2 separate regions of the Homo sapiens genome follow, and region 1 is linked to region 2. The links are contacts of gene promoters, found by promoter capture Hi-C in human tissues and cell types (Jung and others, 2019). All regions are on one chromosome and are shown on one strand. The core of a region is centred on a gene start or on the middle of the fragment in contact, and the rest is flanking DNA. Distances in the headings are between cores, read along the strand shown. Region 1 overlaps FBXO31 (F-box protein 31). Region 2 holds the start of MTHFSD (methenyltetrahydrofolate synthetase domain containing).

What was found. The method cuts DNA at HindIII sites, captures the fragments that hold promoters and counts their contacts. A contact is called where the count stands out against the background at its distance.
Region 1: a fragment that was not itself captured here is called in contact with the fragment with the promoter of MTHFSD in region 2 in 2 of the 25 tissues and cell types used here (IMR-90 fibroblasts and dorsolateral prefrontal cortex).

The regions. Positions count from the first base shown.
Region 1 is chr16:87,357,133-87,363,571 of GRCh38, reverse strand. It overlaps FBXO31 (F-box protein 31), which reads left to right. Exons shown (of 9, transcript NM_024735.5): 2 at 3,206-3,277. Among named protein-coding and RNA genes, the nearest start is that of FBXO31, 23 kb to the left of the region's middle. The HindIII fragment of the contact is 3,111 bases long and covers 3,528-6,439 here.
Region 2 is chr16:86,550,602-86,556,874 of GRCh38, reverse strand. It overlaps MTHFSD (methenyltetrahydrofolate synthetase domain containing), which reads left to right and starts at 1,640. Exons shown (of 8, transcript NM_001159377.2): 1 at 1,640-1,706; 2 at 2,124-2,230; 3 at 4,729-4,842. The coding sequence starts at 1,691. It overlaps FLJ30679 (a long non-coding RNA gene), which reads right to left and starts at 1,555. Exons shown (of 1, transcript NR_026674.1): 1 at 1-1,555. RefSeq lists enhancers at 1,358-1,647, 1,688-1,737, 2,706-3,368, 3,369-4,033 and a silencer at 1,570-1,783. The HindIII fragment of the contact is 6,717 bases long and covers 1-6,213 here.

The DNA of each region.
Region 1 (6,439 bases), core at 3,834-6,333, 800 kb before region 2:
GAGGCAATTGCTGAATTTTCTTCATTATTATTCTATCATTGACAAATTTTCACTTAAGAAATTCTTACCAGTCCTTGGTCCTCCTTGGCAGGCAAGCCTCAGATGCCCCAGGTCACCCAGGAGGCCCCTAGACCGTGAGGCAAAGGAGATGAGCCGGTGTTGATTTATTTTTATTTTTATTTTTTTTGAGGCAGAGTCTTGCTCTTGTTGCCCAGGCTGTAGTGCAGTGGTGCGATCTTGGCTCACTGCCACCTCTGCCTCCTGAGTTCAAGCGATTCTCCTGCCTCAGCCTCCCTAGCAGCTGGGATTACAGGCATGCACCACCATGCCCGGCTAATTTTGTATTTTCAGTAGAGACGGGGTTTCTCCATGTTGGTCAGGCTGATCTCGAACTCCCAACCTCAGGTGATCTTCCCACCTCGACCTCCCAAAGTGGTGGGATTACAGGCATGAGCCACCGCGCCCGGCTTTTGTTTTATTTTTAACCTGCACCTGGTGTTGGTTTTTTCTCTGTCATTACTAGCAGGAGTCAGCCTGGATGGTTGTCAGAGCGGCCCTTGGGCTGCTTCATGCTGCATGTCAGCTCCTCATCCCTGGCCCTGACTGAAGGGAGGACAAAGGTCCTGGTCCCCAGGCCTGTTTGTAGTAAAGACAGGGGTCCCTGACTCCCCTGGTCATAAGGACAAAGTAATTGATAAATAAATGTTTAAACTCTGGCCATGCACAGTGGCTCACGCCTGTAATCCCAGCACTTTGGGAGGCCAGATCACTTGTGGTCAGGAGTTGGAGACCAGCCTGGCCAACATGGTGAATTAAAACCCCATCTCTACTAAAAATACAAAAATTGGCCCAGCATGGTGTTGTGTGCCTGTAGGCCCAGCTACTCAGGAGGGTGAGGCAGGAGAATCGCTTGAACCTGGGAGGCGGAGGTTGCAGTGACCCGAGATTGCACCAGTGCACTTCAGCCTGGGCAACAGAGCGAGACTCCATCCATCCATCCATCAATCAATCAATAAATGTATGTATGTATGTTTTACCTGTAGCCACTATACTACAGCCTGGGCAACAGAGCGAGACTCCATCTCTAAATAAATGAATGAATGGTATGTTTTAACTATAGCCACTACACTACAGCCTGGGCAACATAGTGGGACATGAGACTCCATTTCTAAATAAATAAATGTATGTATGTATGTATGTTTTACCTGTAGCCACTACATTACAGCCTGGGCAACATAGTGAGACCCTATCTCTAAAAAAAAAAAGATAACTCAGTAATGACTGCACATTGAAAAGATAATAATTAGTTATGCTGAGTTAAATAAAATATTACCATGAATTTTACCTGTTTAATTGTACCCTTTTTGATGTGGCTACTAGAAAATGTGAATGCTATTTGTGGCTCACGTTGTGTTTCCATCAGGGCAGCCCCGGCCTAGATCTGGAATCAGCAGCTTCCTGGGCTCTGTGGGAGATCTTCAAGTGACTCACTCTTCTCATTCCTGTTTTCTTCTCCAAAGAACTAAAATGCGTCTCCTCGCTGGGTGTATTTATTAGGGGACCCACTCTGGGCACTCCTCACTGGAGCCTACTGGATTTAGGATGTAGTTTCCCAGGTCCTCCCGCTAAGGGGGACCCGTAGACCACAACTGAGAGGAGACACAGGCCTTCTAGGAGCCTTGAGGTTCAGAAGTGGAGGCAGGGGACATGCTGTCAAGGCACAAGCCTGGAACGGTCCCGCTGGAAAGAGGTTTGCTGAGTAGCAGCCACCTCGCCTTGACTGCTGTCTCCACCCTGTCTGCTTCTCGAGCTTTACTTTGAGTACGGTCAGTGCTTCCAGTTAGAGAAGCATTTGGGGTAATAGCATCCATGCTATTGAAAAGAAGGGATGAGGCCTCTGCGCGAGTAGGGCTTATCAAAAGGCATGTGATGAGGGGCAGCACTTTGGAGCTACCTGGCTAGCCTGACCGCATCGTATCGACGTTCCTGTATTGTGACTGCTGAATGAGCTCTGATGGCCATCAACTTCACTGGGCCTCGGTTTCCCTCGCTGCCACAGGGAGGGTCCTGACCTTCAAGGTCACTGTCAGGCTCTCACGCCTGCACAGGGCATAACACAGTCAGTGTGAGCTGCAGTGGTCCATGTGGAGACCCAGCCACCTCGTCCCGTCTCCTGTGTTGTGCCCCTGCCACATTCTCACTGCGAAGGAAGCTTTTTGATCTAGGCTTCAATTCTTGGTCCCAGCTGACCATAAGCTCCAGGTCCTTTGTGGAGTCATGTCACCTCTCTGCACTTGTTTTCTCTGTTAAAATGGAGATGACAGTGGTGACTCTCTTATGGGACTGCTGTAGGATGCAGTGAGGTGATGCCCAGCATGGCTTGGCATGGTACACAGCACGTGGAAAGCTCAATGCAGGTGTTGCCAGTAGCAGCTCTTGGCCCATGTGCAGTTCTGTAGTTGTGTGGATTAGTCCCTGGCGGTCTTTCCTTTCAAAGGCTAGCGGAGACCCAAGCCGGAGGACCTGGGATTTTGCTTGGGACGTGCTGGGTGTTGGTGATTGTGAAAAGTGCAGCTGTGGTGGGGTGGGAGTAGGGGACAAAGAGGAAGGTGCTGTCAGCAGGTGAGGGTGTGAGGACAGGGGTTGCGGGAGGTGTCCAGGGCCCTGCACTGGGCCCTGGCCAAGCCTAGCCAGTGGAGAAGGGACAATGTTCACCCCTTCCCCCATGTCTTGCACGGTCCCCTCTTGGCCTTGGGCTGAGTTGAACACACAGGCAGCACAGGGAAGTACATGGGGTGGACTGGCCTCTGGCACTGTCTGAACCCTAACACCAGTGGTGAATTTGTTTCCATGGAAACATGGCACTGTGTCCAGACAACTGAATTCTGCCTCACCTTGTTCATAAACTAGGGATTGTCTGATATTGGTTTGTGTGGTTAGGCTTCTAGAGCTTATTAGAATAGACATTGCAGATTATTATTTTGTAAAGGGTGACATTGACTAAAATAGAATAATGTCTTCATCGGTGAACAAGGGTGTTTACTGAATGTGGAGAAGTCAGTGAAATCTCCACAGTGACAGATGCACTCTGGAGATGGGGCTGAGGCTAGGTGTGCACCTCCCCTGCCAGCCATCAGCAGCCTGCCCACGTCTGTCGCGTTATGAGTTGTTGATCTTAAATTTCTGCAAATGTTTCTTGTTACAGAGTATGGTGTTTGCGAAAACTTGCGGAAGCTGGAGATCACAGGCGTGTCTTGTCGGGACGTCTATGCGAAGCGTGAGTGAATCTATTTGTTACCATCCATGATTAACTTTGTACCAGAAGCAGACAGTGCACATCAATGACAAATAATCAAAGTGATTTAGTCCACACTTTTGTTTTCTCAGACACCATCTTACAGTCACATTTTGAATAGAGCACTGGTAGTAACAGCACTAAAATTAGGGAGGGGACACCGTATTCTCCCATTCTGGGCATCGTAGATACTAGTGTCTTTTACCAGGCATCGAGGCCCTTTAGAGCTGAGAAATGTAGGCTGCACCAGAGCGACTTGGGTGTTCCTGGAGGCTGCCTGTTTCTCTGGCTTCTGGGCCTCCAGCCTTCAGGATGGGACTGCCTGTGGTCATTGGGAAATGAAGCTGTGGTGCCTTCTGTCCAAGCCCCAGGTACGGAGAACAGCCCCCCTGCTAGAGTTCTCCTTCCCTTTAGCATTCTGTGAGCAGGCTGAGCCCCCCAGCCCCGTTTCATGTTTCTCTGGTTCACCCGCTTTCCAGAGTCAACTGTGACACTCACCGATCAGGCAGAGGCTCCTTGGCCCCAGGCTGTCTTCCCGCGGGTGTTTCTTCAGTGCCAGGGACTTTCCCATTTCTTGCTCACTGGACGAAGCTCTTGGCTTTTTTGGATGGTCAGAGGGTTTCTGTGAGTGTCTCATACCCCACGTTTTCATCTTCTGACCATTCTTTGAGCTTCTTTTCTTTTTTCTTTTTCATTTCTGCAAGGCAGTTGCTCTTTGAGTTTCTTAGGCCATTTGGGTCATATCATCTCAAAGTGACATGAAGACATATTTCTCTCTAAGAGTTGTCAGCACCAAAAGTCATGTCCCGGTAGGGACACAGGTGTTTGGCCTGCCCAGGTGTTAGGGTTTCCTGTAACAGCCATAGGAGTGTACACATGGATGCTCCTTCCAGCTGTGGGGGTCGGAGGTGTTGCCTGAGCACTGAGTCCTCCTGTCCTGTGGGAGAGGCCATCCGGGCATAGGCAGGCAGGAGGCAGTGTGGCCGAGGGTAGGGCAGGGGGTGGGCACAGAAGAGGGGATAGGAGGACAGGGCATTGGGAGATTTCTTTTCACTGCTGATTCTTGACCCCTTGAAAGTGTTTGCAAAATGCGGAGAATTCACATGATCTGTTTCCGACAGTGTTTATTCCCCGCAGTGTTAGTCTGCAGTGGCCAAAGCAAATGTCAGTGTTCATTTTCACAGCGCAGCAACTGTGTTTCTGTGAATTTGCTTTAAGGCTTATCCAGGAGAAAATTACTTAGCTTTGGGAACAGGTGGTGGAAGAAAATCAGCCTTAGCTCCAGAAACGGGTGGTGTAGTTGGGCAACCTTGGATGACCTGTGACGAGGCTGGCCTGAGTTAGCAGGCTGGGAAACGCCAGGTGGGTGCTGGGCAAAGTGAGTATGTTAGCCGGGGTAAGTGTTCTCTAGACGGTCATCCCAGATGCTCACCTGCCAGGACACCTGCCCTCCCACCTCCTGAGCCCCAGTGAGCTGTGGCCTGGGGCCTGCCGGGAGTGTGCTGGCCCCGGGAGGAGTGTGATCAAATATGGAAAGGATTTCCAAGCTTGCTGCCACCGTGAGTTTCTGGTGGCACCACTGATGGAAGGAAAACGTGTCACAGTGTTGTTCTCTCCAGCAGGTTTCTCAGAGCCACCTCTCTGTGTCCTGGGTGGCTGCATAAACACGAGGGGATTGTATCACACTGGTGAGGGGCAGGCATTGGGTCGTATTCACGCTGTTTGCACAGTCCTGTAAAGGGAGCCATCCTTAGCCCTTTCCCTGCTGTGTCTGTTCAGGTATAAACCCTCGCGTGAAGTCGGGACGTTTTGTGAAAATTCTCCCTGATTATGAGCACATGGCGTACAGAGACGTTTACACCTGCCGTATGTACCTCCTGCGAGCTTTGGCTTCTGCGGCAGCCAGCACGGCCAAGAACTGCATGGGGAGGGCCCTCTGATTCACACATGGGACAGCTTTGGTCCTGGAGCAAGCGGACCTCGTGGCTTTTTGTCATCCTTTCACGTTCACTTGCTGCAGCGTGGCTCTGCTTCAGCTGTGACAGAGATCACACCTGTGTGTTGGACCCAGGCTGCATTTGGCTTACCTTTCTGCAGTGGTTTCTGGGTACTACCAGTCGAGATCACTTTAATGCACATTTTCACATGTATCGTTTATTGAGGAGCTACTGCAGACACAGAGAGGAACGAACAGAGTAGAAGCTTTAAAATTTTATTCTAAAGTGAAATATGAATATTTGACTTCTGACCTTTATTAGTTTTAATCACATTTTAATAGCCTATGTGAATTAAAAATCACATATGCATATACCCTCAATAGACAAAGGCAGGTAGCAACAGTTGACTCCTTTTTTTTTTTTGAGGCAGAGTCTCACTCTGTCACCCAAGCTGGAGTGCAGTGTCACAACCTCTGCCTCCTCGGTTCAAGTAATACTGCCACCTCAGCCTCCCAGGTAGCTAGGATTACAGGCATACACCACCATGCCCAGCAAATTTTTTTGTATTTTTAGTAGAGATGGGGTTTCATCATGTTGGCCAGGCTGGTCTCAAGTGATCTGCCCATCTCGGCCTCCCAGAGTTCTGGGATTACAGGCATGAGGTACCGTGCCTGGCTAACAGTTGACTCTTTAGAACTTAATTCTTCTTTTTGGCCAGACATGGTGGCTAATGCCTGTAATCCCAGTGCTTTGGGAGGCCGAGGCAGGTGGATCATCTGAGGTCAGGAGTTCGAGACCTGTCTGGCCAACATGGTGAAACTCATCTCTACTAAAAGTACAAAAATTAGCTGGGTGTGGTGGCGTGTGCTTGTAATCCCAGGTACCCAGAGGCTGAGGTGGGGGAATCGCTTGAACCCGGGAGGTGAAGGTTGCAGTGAGCCGAGATCACGCCATTGCACTCCAGCCTGGGAGACAAGAGCGAGACTCTGTCTCAAAAAAAAAAAAAAAAAAAGAACCGAATTCTTTTGATGGAGCTCTGGAAATTTTTCTAAGCCACAGTTATAGGAATTTAATGCTGTCTCCACTTTTTTTTTTTGAGACAGGGTCTGTCTTGTTGCCCAGGTTGGAGTGCAGTGGCACAATTACAGCTCATTGTATCCTTGAACTCCTGGGCTGAAGCGATCCTCCTGCCTCAGCCTCCCTAGTA
Region 2 (6,273 bases), core at 391-2,890:
TTCCTAGCACCACCTGCTTTCTAAAATTGCCACTGGCAGATTGTCCCTGGCGTCTCGTTACCATCTGGGGGCCGTGCCAGGCTGACCATCGGAGAGACTTGGGCTCTGTTTTGAGCACAGCTGGGTAACAGAATCCTGCACACACTTCCACTACTGGCACCAAGTCTACTTGCATAAAACACTCTGCAGATCTACTGTGCTTCCATGAAAGGCGGAAAGGACATCCAACCTCTGTGAGAGATTTTATTTTATCACCTCCAAAATGATGTTTGCACTGCTTTTGCCAGCCTGGTGAAAGACAGGCCCGCCCACAAGCAGAACTGAGGCTCCTCGGTGTCTCTATGTATTAATGTTGCGGACACCACATAGGAAGAGAGAGTTGTGATGGGACCCACAGGAGTTGCAATTAAGCACGTTGTCAGGGCTACACGCTCTGCCCTTTCTCTGCTGGGAGACTCAGGCCAAGCTTCTTTAACATGTCTGAGCCTCTGTTGCCTCCTGCGTAGGAGGCGGGTCACATTTGCCTCTGAGGGTTTGCTGTGAAACATAGTTAGCTATGACTTTTAAGGCGCTAAGCTCAATGCCTGGCATATCGTAGCACTGTTAATTACCATTATTAATTATGTCCTAAGGAGGTCAAACGGCACATTATGAGTTACCAGCAGACATGAGTAAGTCGCTTGTACACGGAACACCATTTTCTGTATCTGTTAAGTAGGCGGGCATTCAAACTCTTTTGTCTGTTTCCCAAGTGTGTTGTGAGGATCTCATAAAGTTTTGGGCATGCAATTTCGAAAGGTGGCAGCCACGTTTTGAGTGCTTGTGATGTACCAGGCACGTGGCTACGGGGATGCCTTCATTCGCTCAGGGAGTGGTTCCTAGTGGCTGGTCCCTGACATCTGTGTGTGTGCTGGGTGGGGGTGTGGGATGTCTTCTTCCTAATAAGTGAATGAACTGCCAGGCTGAACGCCCTCGTTTTCTTCCCGCGGGGCTGGGGCCAGAGAGGGAATGGACGTGACGGTCTGTGCAGCCTGGTCTCCTCGAGCCGCTTCTCGACCCTTAGGTTAGCAAACATGAAAGACATAGACAAGCAGACGCAGGCTGCCACGTTCGTTCTTTCTCAGGGTATGCAGAGGTCAGGGTAAGAATCCACGGGTGTTTCTCAAAGGATGGCCTCTGGCCGTCCGCAGCGCAGTCGCCGGGGCTGGGCTGGCCTCGAATTTCCATCTGCCTGCCGCTTTAAAGAGCTGCCGGCTGAATCCGCTGCACACCCACGTGTGAGCACCTGAGAGTCTGCAGGATCTCAGAGGAGGGAACCGCGTCCTACATGAGGAGCAATCAAGGCCGGCTTTCCGGAGGAGGCGGCCTCTAGGACTGGAAGAGGAGGCGGGATGTGTTTCAACCGGCAATGGGTCCCGAGAGACCAGGGACTTGTTCACTTCAGTAACTCCAGGGCTTGGCAAAACGCCTGTCACGGGCGGCGCTCGACAATGACTAGCTGAAAGCAAGAGCGAAGGGCCTGGGAGCATCCCTGACTGTCCCCGGCGCGGATTTTACCCGCCCGAGCATGCGCGCCTGGGCCTCGCCCGCTCAGCCTCCGCCCCTCCTACCATCGCGCAGGCGCGGAGCGGGTGACGTCACTACGCGCCAGAACCTGCGCCGGGAAGCGTCGCACAGCGACTGCATCACCATGGAGCCGAGGGCAGGTGGGGGGCCTGGCGGGGCTCCGGGGCGGCTGGGAATGGGGAGGGACAGCCGGGACCGGTGAGGGTCGAGGCGGGGCCACCGGGGCTGGCAGAGGATGGGGCAGAATCACCGGAAGCGGCCGAGGAGGTCAGAGGGGGTCTGTGCTGGGTTCGGGTCGAACCAGCGGCTCTCTCGCCCGGAATCCCGAGAAAGATGTCAGGAAAAATAAAGATAACGAGAAGACGAGGCGGGAGGGACACCTGCCGTGCACGTGGGGGAGCCCGTGGGCCCCTTGAGGTCGGGGAAACTGAGGCTCAGGAACAGGATCGGAAGCCGGTTTGACCTACACGCGGGGGTCGCTTAACTACTGTTAAGCGGTTTCAGCATGGGCTCTGGAATTCCTTTGTATGTTATTAAGTGGGAATCTTTTGTTGCAGTAGGTGTCTCCAAACAGGACATACGTGAACAAATTTGGGGCTACATGGAATCACAAAATTTAGCTGACTTTCCCCGACCTGTTCATCACAGGATACCCAACTTTAAGGTACTGACATATTTCTGGAGTCCAGAAAAGGAAAACAAAATATTCTTAAATGAATAACACTAGTAATAAAATTCTCTTACTGCGTCATGGTGGATGAGAATGTGGCGAGCAGTGAGCAGTGGTGTGAAATCAAAGCCATTTGGCCAGGGCGTCCTTAGCATTTAGAGACGTCATTTACTCTTCACCTGGGGCCTCTTGCGTCTCTGTGCAGGGTGGTTTGGTTGTCTCTAGGTGAGGTTGTGTCCAGAATTGGTGGGTTCTTGGTCTCACTGACTTCAAGAATGAAGCCTCGCAGTGAGTGTTACAGTTTTTAAAGGCAGCGTGTCTGGAGTTTGTTCCTTCTGATGTTTGGATGTGTTCAGAGTTTCTTCCTTCTGGTGGGTTCACGGTCTTTGCTGGCTTCAGGAGTGAAGCTGCAGACCTTAGCAGAGAGTGTTGCAGCTCACAAAGGCAGGGTGGACTCAAAGAATGAGCAGCAGCAAGATTTATTGCAAAGAACAAACCTTCCACAATGTGGAAGGGGATTGGAGAGGGTTGTTGCTGCTGGTTCAGGCAGCCTGCTTTTAATCTCTTATCTGGCCCCACCCACATCCTGCTGATTGGTCCATTTTACAGAGAGCCGATTGGTCCGTTTTGACAGGATGCTGATTGGTGCGTTTACAATCCCTGAGCTAGACACAAAAGTTCTCCACCTCCCCACTAGATTAGCTACATACAGAGTGCCCATTGGTGCATTCACAAACTCTGAGCTAGACACAGGGTGCTGATTGGTGTGTTTACAATCCCTTAGCTAGACATAAAGATTCTCCAAGTCCCCACCAGCCTCAGGAGCCCAGCTGACTTCACCCAGCAGATCCCGCACTGGGGCTGCAGGTGGAGCTGCCTGCCAGTCCCGTGCAGTGCACCCGCACTCCTCAGCCGTTGGGCAGTGGATGGCACCAGGCACCGTGGAGCAGGAGCGTCGCTCCTCGGGGAGGCTCTAGCTGCACAGGAGCCCGCCGGTGGGGGTGGGGAGGCTCAGGCATGGCAGGCTGCAGGTCTTGGGGAGGCAGCTAAGGCCCGGCGAGAAATAGAGCACAGCAGCTGGTGGCCCAGGTGCTAAGCCCCTCACTGCCCAGGGCCAGCCGCTGTGAGTGCGGGGCTCCCCACGCCTACATGGAACTCGCGCTGGCCCACAAGCACCATGCACAGCAGCAGTTCCCGCCCGCGCCTCTCCCTCCACACCGCCCAGCAAGCTGAGGGAGCCGGCCTGGGCCAGTCCAGAAAGGGGCTCCCACAGTGCAGCTGCGGGATGAAGGGCTCCTCAAGCACGGCCAGAGTAGGCGCCAAGGCCGAGGAGGCGCCGAGAGGGACCGAGGGCTGCCAGCACGCTGTCACCTTTCAAGGTGGTGCTAGTTGCTGTTTTCTGTTTGATACAAAGTAAAATATTTATCCTGGCCGGAAGCATGTTATTGTCGTAATGGCTTTTCACAAAATTGACCCTGCTAAGAGCGTTAGGGAATGAAGGGGTACTGAACTGGAAGTTCAGGCTCTAGGCCTTTGGAAAGAAATGAATGCCTTGCCAGCCTAAGGATGCTGGGCCTCAGTTTCCCAGCTGATCAAAATGTAAGACAATCAAAGATGGCTGTTCCTAACAGTGTTGACAGAAAAAAAAAAGGTTACTCGGAAGAGGCAATGCAGCAGTTCATCATCTTTGACATGCCTATTTTCCAAGAGCAAAAGAAAGCGCTTTTCAAAAATGCTCTCTGCCCTGAAGGACTTAGCTGTTGGCTTGCTTCACCCCATTTTGTCAGGACTGCCTCTCCCCAAGCCTGGCTTCTCCACAACAAGCTCCACCTTCCCTGGTCCTCAGCTGAGGTGGTTCCAAGACTGTCCTGTCCCTTTGAAAAACTGATCTTTTGATGGTTTTTTGTTGTTACTGTGTTTTGTTTTAATGCTTCTGACCCCAGAGAGAGAAATGTATCTTAACAGAGGTAAAGATGAAGGATGTAGAGAATCATGTAGAAATCTTTAAAAAACGAATCAAACAGGAGAGAGGTGGGGGCTTCCAGGTCATGCTACTGCTTGATTTTGGTGGTGGTTACACAGCAGCCTTCATTTTGTGAAAAATCATCAAATTTTGCCCTTGGGATTTGTATTCTTTTTGGAATGCATGTTTCATTTCAGTTAAAGCTCAAGTGGGATTAGGCTACTTTTCTCAAATCCCTTTCCTTACTTAGACTGCTTCCTTAGATGTTTCTTTGGGTGACTGTTAGTGCCTGTCTGGGTGAGATTCTGGGCCGAGCTGCTTGGGCTGCAGTTGGCCTGAGAGCGTGCTGTCCTTTCAGTAACGTGCGATTGCATTGGAAACAGGGCGCTTCTCATGCTGCCGAGCAACTCCCACGCTTGCAGGCGTTCAAAACGGCCAGGACCATTAAAGTAAATCCTGATGCCCCCCAGAAAAGTGCTCGCTTCTTCGTCCTTGAAGTAAGTGCAACTCTGTCTATTTGCCTAACTAGGGGTCTTATCTGGCTTGCCAAAACATCAAAGACCTAGACGTTTTTGCCAGAACACAGGAAGTTAAAGTGGACCCTGATAAACCACTGGAAGGCGTTCGGCTGCTGGTGCTGCAGGTAATTCCACTTCCCTGAGCCGAGCCGAGACCTGGCCGCCAAGGGGGACACCTTTTCCAGGTAGCTGGTCAGTGCACACGTCTGTCTTGCATTTAGAAAGTCGGTGCTTCCGATTCCCTCCAATACAGAAAGTGCCCTTGGTGGTGATTTTTCCAAGAATAGTTCAGAAGCCCTTCAGCTGTTTAGCAATTCAGTCAATCAGGAGTCCCGAATGCTTCTAAATTCAGAGATAAAGGATGTTCAAAACAATGGCTTCCAGGCCCAGTTGGCACAGGAGAGGGAACCCAGGCAGAACCTGTGGTGTTCCAGAATTGAGGAGCTGGAGCTGAAATAGATGACACCACTTTGCCATTTGAAATGAGCATGCTAACAAGCTTGCTGAACACAGAATCATTTGCTTCTGGATGACAGACGGTCACTTGTCATGTTCTGATACTATAAAGACCACGGTTAAGAACTGGAAAGGTTTCTTCTCAACACTGCTGAACTTTTTAAATTCAGGCATGCTTTTGTAATTTTTATTTTTTAACTTCCTAACCAAACAAACACAAAAACTATGGCGTTGAAGCATTCTCAGTTTTGATGTGCTTCATCAGAGGAGGAAGATTACAAGGAAGATTTAGTTCTTTTTGCCACAGTTGTGGTATTATGATGCTTTGAAACATGATAAATCACGAGTAAGAAGTCTGATGTACCCTCAAAAGGTATCGGTTAGAGCACTTGTTCCTCAACTGAAAACATACAGGCCCCTTTTCAAGGAAAACCAGAAAACTCCCCCAGGGTTGATTTAAATTAGTTTATTATAAACTAATTCAATATGATAAACATAAAACTTGGTATAAATTTTAATGCAGATAGCTTTTATGTAACTATAAAACCAAAATAAGCATATAAGTTAAATACAAACAAAACTATAAAATCAGTAACATTCAAATGGCCCCATTAATTTAACGTAATGGTTGATATGGTTTTGCTGGAGCAAATCGCAGCTGATAACATGAGTATAGTACTGGCCATCTCAGGGCAGAATCGTTGTCATTCTGCCTTAACGCTGCCATGCGTTGTGTGCTGACTCCATTCTCCCACCCAAGTTGCCAAGTCAGACTCCTGAGAAGCCCTGGTGAGAGGGGCACTTTCCACACCTCTTGCCGGAGCTGAGAGGAGGGGTCCAGGCTCGTGTGGGAGATCATTTTGTCTGCTGATGGTGGTTCAGCCCCAAGAGAGACTTCCATGTAGGCTCTTCCAGAAGCATAGCTTCCTGTCAGCCTTATTTTCCCAGTTAATGAATCATTTTAATAAGCTAGAAGTAGTAATAGCAGCAGTAGCAAGGAAGGACGGCAGTCGGCAGTCACTGCATTCGAGGCGCAGTTCTGTCTAAATGTTTTCCCTGTATTATGTGGTTTGGTTCTCTACTACTATGGGAGCCATCTC